Regions from separate parts of the Homo sapiens genome. Here regions 1 and 3 are each linked to region 2. Evidence: promoter capture Hi-C in 16 types of primary human blood cells and fetal thymus (Javierre and others, 2016). All regions are on one chromosome and are shown on one strand. Each heading gives the region's core, a stretch centred on a gene start or on the middle of the fragment in contact. The rest is flanking DNA. Distances are from core to core; before and after follow the strand shown. Region 1 overlaps ARPC5L (actin related protein 2/3 complex subunit 5 like). Region 2 holds the start of GAPVD1 (GTPase activating protein and VPS9 domains 1). Region 3 holds the start of WDR38 (WD repeat domain 38).

What was found. Contacts are between HindIII fragments. The CHiCAGO score rates a contact against its expected background, and 5 or more counts as called.
Region 1: a contact is called between a fragment that was not itself captured here and the fragment with the promoter of GAPVD1 in region 2, in 1 of 17 cell types (fetal thymus). The highest score is 6.9, in fetal thymus.
Region 3: a contact is called between the fragment with the promoter of WDR38 here and the fragment with the promoter of GAPVD1 in region 2, in 1 of 17 cell types (fetal thymus). The highest score is 6.5, in fetal thymus.

What each region holds. Positions count from the first base shown.
Region 1 is chr9:124,870,153-124,873,250 of GRCh38, reverse strand. All of the region lies in intron 3 of ARPC5L (actin related protein 2/3 complex subunit 5 like), which reads right to left. Among named protein-coding and RNA genes, the nearest start is that of ARPC5L, 9.6 kb to the right of the region's middle. RefSeq lists enhancers at 290-519, 217-717, 2,356-2,405, 2,866-3,098. The HindIII fragment of the contact is 2,332 bases long and covers 315-2,646 here.
Region 2 is chr9:125,260,302-125,263,128 of GRCh38, reverse strand. It overlaps GAPVD1 (GTPase activating protein and VPS9 domains 1), which reads right to left and starts at 1,303. Exons shown (of 28, transcript NM_001282680.3): 1 at 1,170-1,303. RefSeq lists silencers at 1,157-1,286, 1,225-1,406. The HindIII fragment of the contact is 7,780 bases long and covers 762-2,827 here.
Region 3 is chr9:124,852,158-124,854,877 of GRCh38, reverse strand. WDR38 (WD repeat domain 38) reads right to left here and starts at 1,418. Exons shown (of 9, transcript NM_001045476.3): 1 at 1,278-1,418; 2 at 553-673. The coding sequence starts at 1,346. RefSeq lists a silencer at 1,317-1,366. The HindIII fragment of the contact is 17,878 bases long and covers 1-2,151 here.

The sequences.
Region 1 (3,098 bases), core at 231-2,730, 390 kb after region 2:
ATTAAACTATTAAGGAAATTAAGATGTGCTAGAACTTCTAAGATCTATCGGGATCAATGAGGTCCCAACTGTTACCTGGAAAGAGTTTATCAATCTAACAGAAGCTTTTGCCAACAATGAGCCAGTCTCCACCCTTACCCCCCAACCTCAGTTGCAATCCTGACAACACATTCTTTGCTGAGTTCTGAATACCCAGCATGCAAAAGAAAATTACAATCTGGGTTAGGTCCCCAAAGGTGACACCTATTTTAAACTGAATTACATCAGCCAACTTTCATTTCCTCGTATGAAACACTGGCTTCAGCCAAAAAGCTTCAAAAATAGAACAAGGAATGGCTTCTGCCCAATCGGGTCTCTACTCCTCTTCATGCAGTGATACCCACGTGCAGACAGGAAGGGCCTTCGGAGCAGAGCTGAATCTCCTGGCTTCCCCAGTATGAGATCCATCTTGAGTGAGCTGGGTCTGCGCCACCAGGCAAGCCACTCCCAGCGCTGGTTCCCCAGCTCCCTGCTTGGCTCTGATCCACCTTCCACACTCAAGAGGCAGTCCAGTCCCTCTGTCTTTCAGTTCTGGAGTTCCTTTTCCCCATCCAAACAAGGCCAGCCTGATATCAGCCACTGATAACCTCTACTTTGTAACTCCTTTTTTTTTTTGAGACGGAGTCTCGCTCTGTCGCCCAGGCTGGAGTGCAGTGGCGCAATATTGCCTCACTGCAAGCTCCGCCTCCCAGGTTCATGCCATTCTCCTGCCTCAGCCTCCTGAGTAGCTGGGACGACAGGCGCCCGCCAGCACGCCCAGCTAATTTTTTTTGTATTTTTAGTAGAGGCGGGGTTTCACTGTGTTAGCCAGGATGGTCTCGATCTCCTGACCTCGTGATCTGTCCGCCTCGGCCTCCCCAAAGTGCTGGGATTACAGGTGTGAGCCACCGCGCCCAGCCCTTGTAACTCTTTTCTAATGTGGTGTCCCCAAAGCAATAAGCAGGATCCCATAGGCTGAACAGAAAACATAGGCTCACTTGCTCTTCATGTAAACCTGGCACAACTAACAAATGACATCATTCAAATGATGGATGGGGAAGGGCAGGTATAAAACTAGTCCACGGGGGCAAAAAGCTACTGCTGTGGCGTTAACTCAGCACCACGCGTCCAGCAATCACTCGGCCCATTGATGGGTGAGGGCCTTCAGCAGTTGGGAGATGTGGGGCGCAGGGAGGACCTCCCTGAAGTCACCTATCATTTGTGAAGCCGGCTGTCATACTTGGCTGGCTTTAGGCCTTTTCAGAGAACAGGCTGTGGTGCTGAGGGAATCCTGCCCAGCCCTTGATCTCCTCTAGATCTTCCTCAATCACGGCACAACTGACACTGTGGACCCAGGATTCTCTGACGTGGGATCTTAGCTGTGTGTCATAGGCCTCTGCCCACTGGATTCCAGTGGCATCCCCAAGCTGTAACCATCAAAATGTCTCCAGTTTCCTGGGGGTGGAGGGGAAGGGTGCAAAATCGCTCACAACCACTGCTCTGGACAGAGCCCTGATCCAGAAGTATAGAAGCTGCTTCACTGAAGGGGAAAGGAACTCATACTTTTAAATCGCCACAAGGTCTCGGATCCTGTGCCAGGTGCTTTCACACGCCATCTCATTCCAAAAATCCTTGTGACAATAATCATTATCTCATTTTAAAGGCAATGGAATTGAGGCTCAGAGAACAGAAATTACCTGCGCAAGGTCACAAAACTAAGCTGTCTACACGGCCCTCACACCCAAGCTCCTCCCACAATCCCATGCTGCCGCTCTATCTGCAGACCCGAGCTGCATGTCCAGGACACTTGCTGTGTGCCCAGTGATGCTGATGTTAGCCCATGAGGCTCCCACGGAATCTAGGAAGCCAGCATGGCTGTCCGCCACGTAACAGAAGATGCTGAGTTGTGAAAGGGTATGCGACCTATCCGAGGTCACAGAGCCAGAGCATGGTAGTGCAGGGTGTGCGCAGATGCACAGCCGGGTTCCTTCTACTCCATCTGTGTCATCTCCTGCCACACACACTTCCCTATACAGCCCCAGGACAGGGCCCCTCTCTGCCCTCCCCAACCCCAATCCATCTATCCCTCTCCCTGCTCCCCTGTCCTCAATGGTCTAATATAAGTCCGATTCTTGGTACATGATAGAGACTCAATAAATATCAGTTCCATTCTCCTCCACCTGGGCCCCGTATTTGCCAGGGTTTCAGTTACCTTTATCCGTTAACCTCCCTTTCCCCAACCCCAAGTGGAGCACTCTCCATGGTAACAAGGTTTCTGACGCTTCTGACGCTGCCATGAATGGAGAAACGACCATCCCCTGGATGTGCTAAGCCCAGGCCTCTAAGCAGCCTCAAGGAACCTGTCACCAGGCAGGGGAGTCCCAAGACATGACCTTCAACAAGGTTCTGCACCCAGACCAAGGCAGCAGCTGACAGGCTTGATCTCATCTGTTCAATGAGAGTCCTGGGCCAAAGGCCTGACCCTGGAGCCCCTTTCAGCACTGACTGTCCATGAACTAGGCCCTACACCAGACTACAACCAACCTTCCCTCCTGGGGACCCTTCCCTTGACCCCATTTCATAAGGAGGGTGGATTGGGAGATCCTGATGGGGCAGGAATTACAAGCTTGAATCTCCACTTCGGAAAACACATTCCTGTTCAAATCAAGTCTGAAGGTTTTCGGTTTAAAGGCACACTCAGGAGCACTGCCGGGCTCCCCCTAAAGCAGCAGGCCCCACTTTCCAAGCTGAGTCAACTGGTTCAACACCGAGAACCTGATTTATGTACAGCATGGGCCTCCAACCCTGCCCCCACCCGTGCGGGGGGAGGGGACAGGCTTCCTGGAACACCATTTGAATAAAGAAAAATCCTTCCGGTGAGAATAAGTCAGTTTCCTGCGCTCATACTGCTAAAGGACCAAGCAAGGCTGTGACAATCACCTCTATTTTTAATCTTTTCTAAATGCTGTTTTCTGTGGCCACAAGAACAGTCATTTCCAGGCGTGGGGCTCCACTTTCACACTTCGCTTCAAGGTGTCTGGTTTTTCTTAGCTCTGAACTACTAGTTTTCTCCGCTGCTT
Region 2 (2,827 bases), core at 54-2,553:
ATTTCTTTTAAGTGCATAATTAAATACATGTGATTACAAGGGAAACCAATTATATGGAAATATTAGCAAAACAACAAACTAATATGGTCATAATATATGTACAGCCTTATTATCACATTAAATAACAATGTCTAACGGCGGGTCTAGTAACACCAGAAATTCAAAGAAGTGTTAACCATAAATGATATTCTGAGCTATCTGCAACTGTAAACATGATGCAAAAATATCCGTAATTTTTATTGATCACAAAGTCATAGGCGCTGCTAATGCTACTCTGGCTTGTTGTCCACATTCGTAACTGAAGGAAATAATAAGTTTCAGTTAGCAGTCAATAAAAATAATGATGTCATTTTATCCTCCTTCTAGTGAAAGGACCCTTCTAATTCTATCCATCAATGAACTCCAGTTTAAAACCCCTCTCTAGTTCAAAGTCCTGCTCAGAACTGATTTTCGTCATAAATTTAAAAATAAAAACACTGATTCCTCCTTTGACCTAGTTCTCATCTGAACCTATCACTATGTCTCCCTGTTTTTATGCACATTTATACACAGAACCCTGGGTGTACTTCTGTGGTTTGCCTAGCCAGCACTCACTACAATTTTGCCAGTCAATAAAAGGTGAAGTTAAAAGAAAAGGGATGGAAACAACCAACAGCTCCCTCACTTTCAGACCTCCGACAGCAAGTGGAAAGATGCCAAGTACAGTGAGTGTCTGTGTTAGGTGGGCTGCCCCCAGACCCGTGTGTCCAGCTTGTCAAGCTTCCCTGCAGCACGATATCTTTATCAGCGACACTCAGAAGACATTCCATTTCGTTCTCGCCTCCTATACTCAGTTCCCTACCTGCCGGGCCTCTCGTCTCTGGCCCCCACCCGAGGCCGCCCCGCGGTCCTCCTGTCCCTTCCCATCCCATCCCCCACGCGTCTCTCCCTCTCCTCAGCCCCAGGCCGCCCTGGCTCCTGCGCGCCGCCACATCTCTCCCCTGGGTCTAACCCAGTGTCCCCCGACCCCCACCTCGCCCGACACTGACGGGAAGAGCCCAGGACCCCGGGGTCAGTTGGACCTGACGGCCGGGCAGTCAGAGACAGGCTGCGGCCCTAGGCCGGAGCAACCCGGCCGCGAGGCAGGGAGCCGCTCACAGCCCGCGGACTAAATCGGGACGCGTACTCACCAAGGGGGTCATGCGGGGGAGGACACGGAGGACTCTGTCGGACCGCCACTCGGCCTCGGAGCCGTCGCCCTAGCCGGTGACTGCCCCCGCCGCCGCTGCCGCCACCTTCGCCACTCGCCTGTTGGCTTCCCTGCGTCCTGCAGCGGCGCTGCCGCCACGCCAGCGCGCGTGCGCAGCGCCGCGGGGGCCTCTGGGAGCTGTAGTTCCGCCCGGGCGGCTAGGGGCTCCCACTTCCGCCTTAGGCAGCCCTAGGTCAGCTGCCCCCTGAGGCTGTCGTGGGTGTCCGGGTCCGGAATCGTCTTCCGGAAGGCTGTTCACCAGGCCTGGGCCCTGGTTTCCGCCTGCAGTAATGCTGGACGTGAAGAATCCGACTGAGCAAGTATGTGTAAAGCAAAAATGTAGAGCGTTTTATGCTTTCTGTGACAACGCTCAGTTGCCCAGGACACATTATTCGCATGAATGACTCTCTCTCTTCTCTGTTTCTCTCTCACACGTACGCACACACTACTTACAAACCTCCCTTCCCTTTTTTTTTTTTTTTCGAGACGGAGTCTGGCTCTGTCGCCCAGGCTGGAGTGCAGTGGCTCAATCTCGGCTCACTGCAAGCTCCGCCTCCCGGGTTCACGCCATTCTCCCGCCTCAGCCTCCCAAGTAGCTGGAACTACAAGCGCCCGCCACCACGCCCGGCTAATTTTTTGATTTTTAGTAGAGACGAGGTTTCACCGTGTTAGCCAGGATGGTCTCGATCTCCTGACCTCGTGATCCGCCCGCCTCGGCCTCCCAAAGTGCTGGGATTACAGGCGTGAGCCACCGCTGCCGGCCCCTCCCTTCCCTTTTGTTCTAAGTGCCATTAATTGGTTTGGATGGTATCTGGATTTTCAGTGTAAAACCTGCCTTCCCACTTCTCAGTTTCTAAAATCTTGCTTATCATAAACTTCACCATGCAGTTATTTTAGGTAAGTCAATAAATGAACTGTCTAATAATTTTTGTAACACCATAACTCATATATTCAGAGGTCAAGTTAGCTGAGTTGAACAGTCTAGAAACCTTAAAATTGGAAGATACCTGCTTAAAGGTCACTAGTGCAACTGTTGCCCAGGCAGGAATTCCCTCCTGTACATTCAGCCAGATGGTCATCTTCCTGTTCAACAGTTCAAATTTCAGGGAGCTCACTCCCTCAAGTAATGCAGCCTGCTCCACTGTTGGACAGCTCTAAATGTTAGAAAGTTCTGCCTCCTGCTGAGCTGAAATCTGTTTCCCTTTATTTCCTTCCATTGCTGGTAGTTAGGCTGCCTGGAGCAATACAGAATGTCTTCCACTTGACAGATCTTCAAAAAATTGAGAACAATGATTATATCCTCCAATACTGGGAGTCTCCAGGCAAAAAAAGGAAAAAAGTAATAATCATTTCCCCAGCTATTTCAAATGTCAATCAACTCCCAAACTGCTTTCTATCTACTCACCTCTCTTGATGTCACCTTTAGGGGCATGGTGGCATATGCCTATAATCCTAGCACTTTGCGAGGCCAAGGCAGGAGGATTGCTTGAGCCCAGAAGTTCAAGACCAGCCTGAGCAACATAGTGAAACCCCAACTCTACAAAAAATACAAAAATCAGCGAGGCATGGTGGCTTGCACCTGTAGTCCCAGCTACTAGG
Region 3 (2,720 bases), core at 169-2,668, 410 kb after region 2:
AAATGGACACAACAAAGCCGGTGCAGTGGCTCACGCCTTTAATCCCAGCACTTTGGGAGGCCGAGGTGGGTGGATCACGAGGTCAGGAGTTCAAGACCAGCCTGGCCAAGATGGTGAAACCCCGTCTCTACTAAAGATACAAAAAAATTAGCTGGGTGTGGTAGCAGGTGTCTATAATTCCAGCTACTCGAGAGGCTGAGGCAGAGAATTGCTTGAACCCAGGAGGCGGGGGTTGCAGTGAGCCGAGGTTGTCCAGCCTGGGTGACAGAGAGCGACTCTGTCACACACAAAAAAGGATGCAACAGTAAGTATTACTGTGTTACATTACAGTTGTTTTTGTATGTATGTGTGTGTGTGTGTGTGTTTTTAAAGAAGGCTGAGTCCAGGCCTGTTAGAGTCTAAGCCCCAGCACCCAGATATCTCGTCCCATCTCCCAACCTGCCCAGCCCTGCCTTGCACCCGTGCCCAGCTCATCGGAGGTCACTGCAGTCAGCTCTGCAGCATGCCAGACCCTTGTGCCTCGGTCTTCCCGGCCAGGTGTGGGAGCCCCACCTGTGTGGCCACCCAGCCTCCACAGCAGCTGCCCACTCCGGGTCTCCCAGCCATACACGCAGCCATCTTCTGAGCCTGTGAGCAGCATCTGGCCATCAGGGGAGAAGGCAGAAGAGTTGACCTAGAAACAGCACAAAAGCGGTCCCATTCTGGGGAAGAAACCCCTGTCCGCTCATCTCTGACCCCTAAACACTGCCCCCCAAGAGCCTGGGGTTGGAGCTTGACTTCAAGCCTCACTCCACCACCAGAGCCCAGAACCCGGGACCCACTGGGCCCTCTCTCGAGTCCCGTAAAGCCAGAGCCTGCAGTTGGAGGCAAGAGCCTTCTCTGGAACCAGAGCCTGGAACCCCAGAGCTAAGAGCCCATTCCAGAGCCGCAGCTGACAACGGAGAGTCCAGAATCTACTCTAAGTTCTGAGTTCACTTTAGAGCCAGGGCCCCAGAAAACACCAGAGTCAGCAGGGAGCTTTGTGCCCCTCTCGAGGCAGAGCCCAGAGCCCGGGGCTCTTTTTACAGGCAGAGCTTAGAACCTAGAGCTGCTCTGGAGCTGGGGCCCGGCACTGGAGCTGAGAACCTACTTCGATCCTTCTTGGGTTAGCAAAGTCTACTCTGGACTCAATGTCCTGAGCCACTGCCCAGAGAACATTCTGGAACCCCCACTACACAGAACCAGGAACCACTCTGCATCCAAAGCCGGGAGTCTGGGCAGAGCCCGCTGGACCTCACCTCCCCGCCGTGCTGGCCGAAGAATTTCACTCTCCGCACGGCCAGCGTGGCCGGGACCCCGCTGTTCATGGGCACCCGGCCCCGCCCCGCCCCGGCGGGCTCCCTCCTAGGCGGCCGCGGGACCCCAGGACTGGGCAGAGGAAAGAGGAAACTGTGTACAGGCGGTCTCCATGGTAATCGGGGCGGGGCGTGCGGCCATGGTGGGGTCCCTGCGAAGCCACGAGGACTGACAGGCAGGCCAGACCGCTTGCAGTTCGGCGGAGGTGGAGCCGCAGCAGGCGGGACCGCGGCGGGCTGGGAGAAGGGACTTCCCGCGCCAGCGGCTGCGCGTCCACTCTAGGGCAGCTCTCGCGCGGGGCAACACGGCAGGCAGAGCGGCCACTAGAGGGCGCGCCAGCCACACGCACCGCGCGGCCCAGAGCCCGGCCCCGCGCCCTGCGGACTGCGAACTGCAAGGGGTCCCTGCACCTCTTTGATACAGGGGAGCAACGAGCCTGTCTCCCCATCTGCACAACCGGGAGCATCAGCCCTGCCCCACAGGACTCCAGGGGTGAGCCAAGCACAGGGCCTGGCACACGGTAGATGCCCAAGAGGGCCCCCTCAGGAGCCAATACCCCTTCCGTCCAGGAGTGGCCAGTACTGAGGTTAAGGATGTCCCAGGAGAGCGCTGGGGACAGTAGCCAGCTCTGTCCTCCAGGGCGTGGAAGCCAGAGGTAGTGTGTGTAAAGTACATGGCATTAAAAGTGGGGTCACGTTGCTGTTAACATTCCTGGCAGCACAAAATGTGCCATCTGAGGATGGGGTGGAGGCTGGGGCTGGGGGGCAGTTGCCCAGGAGCTGCCAGGATCCTTACCGGATAGCGCAATCTGAAGCTTGGAACGAGCAGGACTTGGTTTCATTGTTAATTTACAGGTGAAGAAACTCACCCGGAGAGCTGGGAGGACTTGCTCAGAGCCACTCAGCCAGTAGGAGTGGAACTGGGATTTCAGCCCATGGCTGTCTGACTCTGGGTGTCTGTACTGGGACCACCTGCCATGAACTCCAGGGACCTCTCAGCAGATGTTGAGGTCCGCAACTCCTGGTACATCTGGGAAACTGAGGTCCGAAGGGGGCAGGACTTGGCCCAGCCATCTAGCCGGTGCTTCCATGGCAGAGCTGGGGCAGGACCCAGTCTCCCCACTCCCACAGCAGGACAGGGAGGGAACAGAGGACCCCCCACCTGCCCCGCCCATGGATTCTAGGCTCCCTGGGGGCAGGGGTGGAGCAGCTGGGCTTTGGGAGCTTCAAACTCAAGAGTTCCCAGCGGCGACTCACACCCTCCCCCCCTAAACCTCTTTGCCAGAAACTTCTCAGGAGATCCGCTGTGCTCCTGCTATTTTAAGTCCCAGACAGTCAGGCGGGTGAGGGAGCGACAATGACAGCTTTGAGGCAGTCCCACTCCAT